Linked DNA regions of Homo sapiens: regions 2 and 3 are each linked to region 1. Evidence: promoter capture Hi-C in 16 types of primary human blood cells and fetal thymus (Javierre and others, 2016). All regions are on one chromosome and are shown on one strand. The core of a region is centred on a gene start or on the middle of the fragment in contact, and the rest is flanking DNA. Distances in the headings are between cores, read along the strand shown. Region 1 holds the start of ZSCAN4 (zinc finger and SCAN domain containing 4). Region 2 has its middle 26 kb from the start of ZSCAN18. Region 3 overlaps LOC124904784 (a long non-coding RNA gene).

What was found. The method cuts DNA at HindIII sites, captures the fragments that hold promoters and counts their contacts. A CHiCAGO score of 5 or more calls a contact.
Region 2: a fragment that was not itself captured here is called in contact with the fragment with the promoter of ZSCAN4 in region 1 in 1 of 17 cell types (activated CD4 T cells); the score reaches 5.1 in activated CD4 T cells.
Region 3: a contact is called between a fragment that was not itself captured here and the fragment with the promoter of ZSCAN4 in region 1, in 2 of 17 cell types (total CD4 T cells and total CD8 T cells). The highest score is 6.2, in total CD4 T cells.

Annotation. Positions count from the first base shown.
Region 1 is chr19:57,666,461-57,670,256 of GRCh38, forward strand. It overlaps ZSCAN4 (zinc finger and SCAN domain containing 4), which reads left to right and starts at 2,475. Exons shown (of 5, transcript NM_152677.4): 1 at 2,475-2,743; 2 at 3,785-3,796. The HindIII fragment of the contact is 4,258 bases long and covers 1-3,796 here.
Region 2 is chr19:58,122,419-58,126,013 of GRCh38, forward strand. No RefSeq gene overlaps it. Among named protein-coding and RNA genes, the nearest start is that of ZSCAN18, 26 kb to the left of the region's middle. The HindIII fragment of the contact is 5,091 bases long and covers 1-3,595 here.
Region 3 is chr19:58,166,251-58,170,279 of GRCh38, forward strand. The region is part of intron 1 of LOC124904784 (a long non-coding RNA gene); the gene reads left to right. Among named protein-coding and RNA genes, the nearest start is that of ZNF274, 15 kb to the right of the region's middle. The HindIII fragment of the contact is 1,581 bases long and covers 1,990-3,570 here.

The DNA of each region.
Region 1 (3,796 bases), core at 1,225-3,724:
ATAAAGACATTTAGAACCGGATGAATGTTGTTCCTTTTTTGAAGTTGTTATTAAAGTAGGTGCAACAACCAAAAATCAATAAATAATAAATAAATTGACTAAATATTTTTTCTCAAAAAAAAAAAAAAAAGAAAAGAAAGTCACCAGGTGTGGTGGCTCACGCCTGTAATCCCAGCACCTGGGGAGGCTGAGGTGGGCGGATCACCTGAGATCAGGAGTTTGAGACTATCCTGGCCAACATGGTGAAACCCCGTCTCTACTAAAATACAAAAATTAGCCGGGTGTGGTGGCGCATGCCTTTAATCACAGCTACTCTGGGTGCGGAAGTTGCAGTGAGCCAAGATCGTGCCACTGCACTCCAGCCTGGGCGACAGAGCAAGACTTTGTCTCGAAAAAAATAGAAAGTTAACAGTTTTGTTTATTTTCCTACCAGGTTTTTATTATTATTATTATTATTCTAATTGAAATCACTGTTTCCTACATACTGAGGCGGATTGGCTTTGTCTTCTTGGAAACAAAGGTTATTTTCCTCACTCACACTGGAGCGGGGATACTCACCAGACACAAGTTGAGATGATGCTGGATGTAAACGGGTCATCTATTTTTACCAAAGGCAGCACTACCTGCCTTCCCAATTGATCAGAAAAGCATTTGATAGTTGTCTTTGTAATATCCTTATTTGATTAAATTACTATGTGGATTTCACATTTATTTTTATTGTTTTGTGCCTGTTTATTCTATGCCTAAGTTGGGGTATCACCAGGTCATTTCCTCCACCATCTGTGTTTCCCCAAGGATAAATCCTCCTGCTCATGCCCTTCACTCCTCCATTAGCCCATTCCCTAGAAAGCTGCTGGTTTTACACAGTGGCTGTGTGTCTTTGCCTTCTTAATGTAGCATTCAGAGTCCCACTCTGGAGCCAGGTATCAAATCCTAGCCCAGCCACTTACAGGCTATGTAGCACTGGCCAAGGTACTGAACTTCTCTGTGCCTCTGTTATTTTGATGTTAAAATGGAGTTATTTAGGATCTACTTTACAGGACTGTTGTGATGGAAATGGGTTAACATACAGAAAGCACTGAGAACAGAGTCAAATATGCCCTGACTGCTTAAAGGTTAGTTATTATGATCCCTGATGCTATTACTACTCTTACTGATATCATCGTGCCTCAGGTCTAACTGCTCCCAGAGTTACACACCAGCATGTCCAACAGCTGGCTGTATATCTGAACTCAAAAATCCAATAACCTCCTCCAAACAGAAATTGCCAGCTTTTCCCCAAACCTTTTCCTTACAGCTCCTTACAGAGCTCAAGGAACTCCTTGAGACTGCAGAAGCAGACAGGAAATGCTTTCAACCCACCACAAATTAACAACTGGCCTCCAGTGGTACTCACATTGTCTACATTTTTCATTGTTTTTTTTTTGTTTGTTTTTTGTTTGTTTGTTTGTTTGTTTTTGAGACAGAGTCTCACTCTGTCGCCCAGGCTGGAGAGCAGTGGTGCGATCTTGGCTCACTGCAACCTCGGCCTCCCAGGTTCAAGTGATTCTCCTGCCTCAGGCTCCCGAGTACTTGGGATTACAGGTGCCTGCCACCATGCCTGGCTAATTTTTGTATTTTTTTAGTAGAGACGAGGTTTCATCATGTTGGCCAGGCTGGTCTCAAACTCCTGACCTCAGGTGATCCACCCGCCTCGGCCTCCCAAAGTGCTGGGATTACAGGCATGAGCCACTGCGCCCAGCCCATTTTTCATTGTTGTAGCAGAGAAGTATCCCTGCTTCCATCAAGAGCCAATTTTCCTGTCACAGTTGGTTTAATGACATAGTTGGTGACAGGACCTAAACCACCAGTGGAAAATTGGCTCTTGATGGGAGCAGGGATACTTCTCTGTATGGAGTATATGTGGATGAAACTCCTTGGAGAAATGGACTAGTACACAGTCTTATAATGTGAGGATTCAGAACATAATTCCTAATGTGGGGAAGTCAAGCAGACATTTCATCAGTGGAGTACCAGGAGATTCAAACTCTGTACCCAACAGTGATAGGGGGACAATCTAAGCCCCAAGAGGCTGCATGCCTGATGGAGCAGATGAAACACATGGCTGTAATTAGCTCCCACCCCTTCGATACGTTCTCAACTCCACCAAAGCCTCAGCCTGTATGAGGGTGGAAAGTGGGGAGGGAGAGTGCAGGGAAGAAGGCACAGCTTCCACCACACTAGGTGACCAGGCGCTTCTCACCATTTTAACTCCTCCATCTCTCTCAAGCCTCATGTTAAGTCTATCAAACATCATATGCTTTCTCAATATAAAATATGCACCAATTTCTCCCTTTCCACTGATATAATCCTAGTCTCAACCCCTGTCATCTTTTTGATGGATTAGGAATGCCTTCTCTGGGTCCCGGGCCCCCTCTGTTTCACCAGCCTGGAATTGGCACAGGAGTCACAGCATTAGCCTTGCCCTCTGCCACCCTTGTAATTCATAAATCTCTGAAAACTTAAAAGTTTGAGCAAAAGTTTGTCATGTTTCTATGAGTAATTTATAATAAAACTTGATCAGAATTTGTGAGACTAACGTTTGTCTTTATATTTTCCTTTTTTTTTTTTTTTTTTTTGAGACACAGTCTCGCTCTGTCGTCCAGGCTGGAGTGCCGTGGCGTAATCTCGGCTCACTGCAACCTCTGCCTCCTGGATTCAAACAATTCTTCTGCCTCAGCCTCCTGAGTAGCTGGGATTACAGGTGCATGCTACCACGCCCAGATAATTTTTGTATTTTTAATAGAAACCGGGTTTAACCATGTTGGTCAGGCTGGTCTCAAACTCCTGACCTCATGATCCACCTGCCTCGGCCTCCCAAAGTGCTGGGATTACAGGCGCGAGCCACCACACCCAGCCTGTCTTTATATTTTCATTTAATGTGGACCTTGTTACATTTTACCGCAGATTTTGTATTTTTGTGTGTGTTTGTTTGTTTGTTGGTTTTTGAGACAGTCTACCTCTGTCGCCCAGGCTGCAGTGCAGTGGCACAATTTCAGCTCACTGCAACCTCCGCCTCTGTGGTTCAAACAATTCTTCTGCTCAGCCTCCTGAATAGCTGGGACTACAGGCACGCGCCACTACGCCTGGCTAATTTTTGCATTTTTAGTAGAGATGGGGTTTCACCATATTGGCCAGGCTGGTCTCGAACTCTTGACCTCGTGATCCGCCCACCTCGGCCTCCAAAAGTGCTGGGATTACAGGCATGGTTTTTTTTTTGTTCGTTTTGTTTTGTTTTTTTTTTAGAGACTTGGTCTCCTTCCATTTCCCAGGCCAGAGTTCAGTAGGGCGGTCATAATCCACTGTAGCCATGAACTCCCTGGCTCAAACAAGCTACACAGACATGCCACCATGCCTGGCTAACATTTTTAACATTATTTTTGGTAGAGACAGGGTCTTGCTTTGTTGCTCAGGCTAGGGATTCACAGAGTCTTGCTCTGTCTCCCAGGCTGGAATGCAGTGGCGCAATCTTGGCTCACTCTAGCCTCTGCCTCCCAGGTTCAAGTAATTCTCCTGCCTCAGCCTCCCAAGTAGCTGGGATTACAGGTGCCCACCACCATGCCCGGCTAATTTTTGTATTTTTAGTAGAGAAAGGGTTTCACCATGTTGGCCAGGCTGGTCTTGAACTCCTGATCTCAGGTGATCTGCCTGCCTCAGCCTCCCAAAGTGCTGAGATTACAGGTGTGAGCCACTGCACCTAGCCTGCAGAAATATTAATGTGTTTGTTTATGACCTGTTGACCCAGGACCAGTGATGG
Region 2 (3,595 bases), core at 435-2,934, 460 kb after region 1:
CAGGCAGACATCTAATTCCATTCATACAAACACATGGTGAGGCAGGCTTTATTCCAGAAGCTACTACAGAGGGGCTTGGGAGGCCAGACTCAACTCCAGCTTGGACAAGAACAAGTGAGGGCTTAAAGCCGAGAAGCAGCAGGGTGTCTGGAGGATGAAAAATTACTAAGTGCAAACCTCAGAGATAAGGGGTGAATTCTTGCCAGACCAACTCAAGAGAAGTTTTCCTAAAGGCAGGCCCAGGGAAGAAGACATTGAAGGTGGGGGACAAGGAATTTGATCAGATATCAAAGTGGAGTGGGGAGTGCTACACACTTTTAAACAACCAGGTCTCATGAAAACTCACTCACTATCATGAAAACAGCAAAAGGGGAAATCCACCCCCATGATACAATCACCTCCCACCAGGTCTGTCCCCCAACACTGGGAATTACAATTTGACATGAGATTTTGGCAGAAACACAGAGCTAACCCATATCATTCTATCCCTGTCCCACCCCTAAATCTCATATTCTTCTCATACTGCAAAATGCAATCATGCCTTCCCAACAGTCCCCCAAAGTCTTAACTCATTCCAGCATTAACTCAAAAGTGCAAGTCCAAAGACTCATCTGAGACAAGGCAAGTCCCTTTCACCTATGAGCCCATAAAATCAAAAGCAAGTGAGTTACTTCCAAGGTACAATGGAGGGTACAGGCATTGGGTAAATTCCCCTATTCCAAAAGGGAGAACTTGGTCAAAACAAAGGGGCTACAGGTCCCATGCAAGTCTGAATACCAGCAGGGCAGTCATTAAATGTTTAAGCTCCAAAATAATCTTCTTTGACTCCATTTCTCACATCCAGGTCACACTGATGCAAGGGCTGGGCTCCCAAGGCCTTGGGCACTCCACTCCTGTGGCAATGCAGGGTACAGCCCCTGTGGCTGCTTTCACAGGCTGGTATTGAGTGCTTGTGGCTTTTCCAGGCACACGGTGCAAGCTAACGGTGGACCTACCATTCTGGACTCTGGAGGATGATGACCCTCTTCTCACAGCTCCACTAGGCAGTGCCTGAGTGGGGACTCTGTGTGGGGGTTCCAACCCCACATTTCCCCCATCCCCCTGCCTTAGCAGAGGTTCTCCACGAGGGCTCCACCCATGCAGCAGACTTCTGCCTGGACGTCCAGGTGTTCCCATACATCCTCTGAAATCTAGGCAGAGGCTCCCAAACTTCAACTCTCGCCTTCTGTGCACCCACAGGTCCAATACCACATGTAAGCTGCCAAGGCTTGGGACTTGCACCCTCTGAAGCAATAGACCAAGCTGTACATTGGCCTCCTTTAGCCACAGTTAGAACTGACGCAGCTGGGATGCAGGATGCCAAGTCTTGAGGATGCACAGAGCACTGGGGCCCTGGACCCTGGCCCACAAAACCATTTTTCTCTCCTAGGCCTCCAGGCTTGTGATGGGAGGGGCGGCTGAGAAGGTCTCTGAAATGCCCTGCAGGCATTTTGCTCATTATCTTGCCTATTAACTTTCAGCTCTTCTTTACTTATGTACATTTCTGCAGCCTTTGATTCCTGCCAGAAAATGGGCAGCAAATTTTCAAAACTTTCATGCTTTGCTTCCAGTTTAAATGTAAGTTATAGTTTTAGGTCATTTCTTTGATTATGCAATTGAGTGCAGACTTTAAGAAGCAGCCAGGCGACCTCTCCAACACTGCTGCTTAGAAATTTATTCTGCCAGATACTCTAAATAATCTTTCTCAAGCTCAAGTTGTGTCTGTCACAGATCTCTAGAGCAGGAGCACAATGCTGCCAGTCTTTTTGCTAAAGCACAGCGAGAGTGACCTTTATTCCAGTTACCAGTAAGTTCCTCATCTCTATCTGAGACCACCACAGCCCAGACTTCACTGTCCATATTATTAGCATTTTGGTCACAACCATTTAAGTCTCTAGGAAGTTCCACACTTTCCCTCAACTTCCTGTCTTCTTCGGATCCCTTCAAACTGTTCCAACATCTGCACATTACCCAGTTCCAAAGTAGCTTCAGGAATCTTTATAGCAGTGCCCCACTCCTGTTACCAACTTTCTATACTAGTCCATTCTCACACTGCTGTGAGGAACTACCTAAGATTCGGTAATTTATGAAGAAAAGAGGTTTAATTGACTTACGATTCCACAGGCTGTACATGAAGCATGGCTGGGAGGCCTCAGGAAACTTACAGTCATGGCAGAAGGTGAAGAAGTAAGCATGTCTTACCATGGCAGAGCAGGAAAGAGGGTGAATGAAGAAGGAAGTGCTACACACTTTTAAACAAGCAGGTCTCATGTGAACTATCATGAGAACAGCAAGGAGGAAATCTGCCCCCATGATCCATTCATCTCCCACCAGGTCCCTCCCCTAACAAGAGAATTACAATTTGACATGAGACTTGGGTGGGGACACAGAGCCAAACCATATCAGATTCTGTTTTGAGACAGGGTCTTGCCCCATTATCCAGCCCACAGTGCAGTGGTGTGATCACGGCTCACTGTAGCCTCAAACTCCCAGGCTTAAGAGATTCTTCTGCCTTCTTCCTGACTCTCCCTCCTGATAAGCTGGAACTAAAGGCACATGCCATCACACCTGGCTAATTTTTACATTACTATTTGCAGAGATGGGGGTCTTGCTATGTTGCCCAGGCTGGTCTTAAATGCCTAGGCTCAAGCAATCCTCCTGCCTCAGCCTCCTGAAGTGGTGAAATTACAGGTGTGAGCTACTATGCACATCCAAACATCTTGCTCAAACTGGATCCTATAGGGAAAGGGAGAAGCCCAAGGTCAGAGGGCTCAGGGGATCCTGATTTAAGTTGGGTCAAGGAGAGTCTGCAGTGCACTTTTCTGTATGTGAGCTATACTCAAACGCAACTCTCTGGAGAAGACAAGTCAGCCTGGTCCCCTTTCATCCATCACCACACCCTGGGACACAGCACCATCCCATCCTGACTCCAGAGGGTTCAACAAGGGTCCCCGCTAGTCCTCCATGCCCCTGCACCTCTCACCATGAGATCACCATATCCCAATGTGTGTGGGGGAGCTTTACTTCTCTAAATGCTCTTTCAGGGCCACTCTTCCCTTCTTCACTCCGTGCCTCCATTACCTATCTACTCATTCCTCTCTCAGGACTGGCTGCCCACCCTTCCCATGACACAGCTATCAGAGGCATACCAAGGTTGGCTGCCTCATGGGAGACAGCAAGTGCCATGGAGGCCACAGCTGATGCCAGACAAAAGAGAACACACACAGAGAAGGAGGCATGGCTGCTTGAAGCTCCCCACGAGCTGGCCTGAGGGTCCGGACCTCAGAATACCAGCACCATGGAGACACCAGGTCACACACACATGAACCTTGATCCAGCTAATACAATGGGCCTGGCTGACCCCAGTCCTGGACTGACTCATCACTAATCTTCACTATCGTCACACCTGTCCCTTCTCCCAGGAGAGGAAATTGTCTAGAGGCAAAATCCCAAGGGGATCCACTCATGGGGCTTCAAGGCTGTGTCATCCACCTTGACTGGCTTTCACTCGGCCAGTACTGCACTGCCTCGGAAGGGCCACTCCAAAGTCATCCCA
Region 3 (4,029 bases), core at 1,530-4,029, 500 kb after region 1:
AGAGTTGAGTTGAATGTAAGGAATGTGGAAAAGTGTATTCAGAGCTCCTCTCATCTTTGTTTTGAGAGCACTCACACAGTTGACAAACCCTCCAGATGTTCTGAATGTGAGAAATCCCTGTTTATGGTAAATACTTTCTGACATCAGAGAAGTCATACTGGAGAGAGACCATATAAATGTAGTATGTGTAAAGAAGTCTTTAAACAGAGCTCAACCCCACTGATGTATGAGCAAACTCTCTCAGGAAATAGACCTTACAAATGTGTTGAGTGTTGGAGAGTCTTTATTAAGAAATATTTCTTTCAGTATGTTTCAGAACTTATACAGGAGAACAATACTATAAATGTAATCGCTGTAGCAAAGGCTGTAGACACAAATTATACCTTATTCAATATGAGACAATTTATACTTGTGGGAAATTATATATTTGCAGTGAATTTAGGAAATTCTTCTAAAGAAGTGAACACTTTTACCCTATAGCTAAGAATCTATAGAGACACCTTATGAAGGGAATCATTCAGGGAAAGGTTTTACACTTTGCTCCTCCACTACTCAAAAATCACAGAAGACACACTGGAGAGCAAAGTGATGGATACAGTCATCGTGGGAAAGGCTTCAGACGTAGCCTAGCCCTTATGATGTGACATCAGAGGACTCATACTGAGGAAAACCCCATACATGTAATTTGCGTGGAAGAGCATTCAGGAGTTGTTCTCATATTATTGAACGTAAGAGGACTCATACTGGAGAACACTATGAATGCAGTCAGTATTGGCAAGCTTTCAACCATGGCTTTTACCTTATTTGACACCAGGAAATTCAAACAAATTAGAAAAACTCATTGAAAAAAGATCAATGTGGAAAAGCTATTGGTTGGAATTCCATTTTATTTGACATCAGGGATAAAGGAGGCAAAAGCCACCAGTTATTTTTTAACTCTTAAGTATCTGAATGTAACAAGACTGCAAACTTGTGACTCCCTGCAGCCACAGATCAGCAGGGATAAGCAGTTCTATTCTACATATGTCCCTAATTTGCCATAGAAACACCATTTAATGGGGACTCAGGGTCTAGGCCTGATGAACAATGTCTCATAGAAATGTCTGGCCATATGCGGCTGGGCACAGTGGCTCACGCCTGTAATCCCAGCACTTTGGGAGTCCGAGGCGGGTGGATCACGAGGTCAGGAGATCAAGACCATCCTGGCTAGCACCGTGAAACCCCGTCTCTACTAAAAATACAAAAAAAAAAAATTAGCTGGGTGTGGTGGTGGGCGCCTGGAGTCCCAGCTACTCAGGAGGCTGAGGCAGGAGAATGGTGTGAACCCAGGAGGCAGAGCTTGCTGTAAGCCGAGATCGTGCCACTGCACTCCAGCCTGGGTGACAGAGCAAGACTCCGTCTCAAAAAAAACAAGAAAAAAAGAAAAAGAAAAAGAAATGTCTCCCATATGCCTGTAATCCCAGCTACACAGGAGGCTGAGGCAGGAGAATAGCTGAACCCAGGAGGTGGAGGTTGCAGTGAACCAAGATCACACCACTGCCCTCCAGCCCGGGCAACAGAGCAAAACTCCATCTCAAAAAAAAAAAAAAAAATGGTTGCCATAGATAATCATGGCTGGGCACAGAGGCTCACACCTGTAATCCCAGCACTTTTGGAGGGCAAGGCAGGTGGATCACTTGAGCTCAGGAGTCCAAGACCAGCCTGTGCAACATGGAGAAACCCCGTCTCTAATAAAAATACAAAAATTAGCTGTGCGTGGTGGTGCATTCCTGTAGTCCCAGCTACTTGGGAAGTGAGGACTGCTTGAGGGGGTCAAGGCTACAGTGAGCTGAGATGGTACCACTGCACTCCAGCCTGGGTGACTAAACGAGACCCTGTCTAAAAGAAAAGAAAAGAAGAGAAATGGTTGTCATAGGTAATCACATGTAAATTTTTTTTTTTTTAAAGAGTGAGCAACAGTAAGATTTATTGCAAAGAGCGAAAGAACAAAGCTTCCACAGTGTGGAAGGGGACCCAAGCGGGTTGCCCATAAATGTTATCAGTGGCAACAGCGTATCTGTTTTTCTACATCACGTATGAATAAAAGAACCGTCAACCTTGAAGAATGGTGCAGGAATCATATGGCAACAGCGTATCTATTTTTCTACATCACGTATGAATAAAAGAACCGTCAACCTTGAAGAATGGTGCAGGAATCATACACCTTTTAGCATCATGGGGATCCTTATGTGTATAATTTTATGATAGTCCTAGATGAGGGCTGAAGGATATGCTATCAATTTTTTTCTGCATAATCCAAATATTATCACTCCAAACAAATCAGAGAGCTTTATACTAACTTGCTAATACTTTGCCAATAGCATTCTTCTATCTACTTGAATAGAAGCATCATAAAGAGTTGTATGTTGGCCAGGCACGGTGACTCACACCTGTAATCCCAGCATTTTGGGAGGCCGAGGCAGGAGGATCACCTGAGGTCAGGAGTTTGAGACAAGCCTGGCCAACATGGTGAAACCCTGTCTCTAGTAAAAATAGAAAAATTAGCTGAGTGTGGTGGCACATGCCTGTAATCCCAGCTACTTGGGAGGCTAAGGCAGGAGAATCAGTTGATCCCGGGAGGTAGAGGTTGCAGTGAGCCAAGGTTGTGCCATTGCACTCCAGCCTGGGTGACAAGAGCAAAACTCCATCTCAAAAAAATAAAAAAAATGAGTTGTACGTATCTTCACATTTCTAAGGGCATGTCCAATGTCTTGGCAGGGTTAAAAAGACATCATAGTCTGGTGAAGTACCCATACTCCAAAACTAGTGCAAACTTCACAAGTTTCATTGCAAATCCCTTACAAAGAGCACAGGGTATGTATAAGCAGCATTGGTTTCTCTTCTGAAACCCTGGACACTAGAAGATAAGTGAAGATTCCAGAAACACAAAGACTCTGATTTCAGGATTTGATGCTCAGCAAATATATCATTCACACATATGAGGAGAGAGTAAGCATTTTCAGACCTGTTAGCATTCAAAATTTGTATTCTTTCTGGAAAAACTGCCCAAGAGAACATAATAGTAATTTCTTACAATGGAAGTATGAGCCATGTCCCCAAAAGACATCTAAAAGGACACTCATAGAAGCATTAGTCATAAGGGGCCAAAACTGGATACAGCCCAGCAGTCCATCAATAATAAAATGTATAAACAAAATGTGGTACATCCATAGTGGAATACTACTCAGCAATTTACCAAACATTAACTACTGATACATGCAGCAACTTGGATGAATCTCTAACACATTATGTTGACACAGAAAACCATAGACTATATGATTCCATTTATATGAAGTTTGAGGACAGAAAAAAAACTTATGATGATAATCAGGATAGTGGTTAACTCTGGGAGATATTAACCAGGAAGTGGTACAGGGTTTTGGAAATATATTTTCTGTTGACCTGTGTGATGGATTTTTATATATGGACATTATATATTTATATATTTAGACATATATAAAAAAACTCATCAAGTTGTGAAGTTGAGGACTTTATGCCTATATATATGTTTATGTGTATATATATGTTTAAAGCTTATATAGTTTATGTATATAAAGGTTACATATAAACTTTAATTTAATTAATTAATTTTTTGAGACAACAGTCTCACTCTGTTGCCCAGGCTGGAGTGCAGTTGTGTGATCTCTGCTCACTCCAGCCTCTGCCTCCTGGGTTTAAGTGATTCTCCTGCCTCAACCACCTGAGGAGCTGGGATTACAAGCAAGCACCACCACACCTGGCTAGTTTTTGTATTTTTAGTAGAGACAGAGTTTCACCATGTTGGCCAGGCTAGTCTTGAACTCCTGATCTCAAGTGATCCTAATGCCTTGACCTCCCAAAGTACTGGGATTACAGGTGTGAGCCACCGTGACTGGACTAAACTTTAATTTTAAAAGTTTTAAAACGGCCGGGCGTGGTGACTCGTGCTTGTAATCTCAGCACTTTGGGAGGCCGAGGTGGGCGGATCACGAAGTCAGGAGATCAAGACCA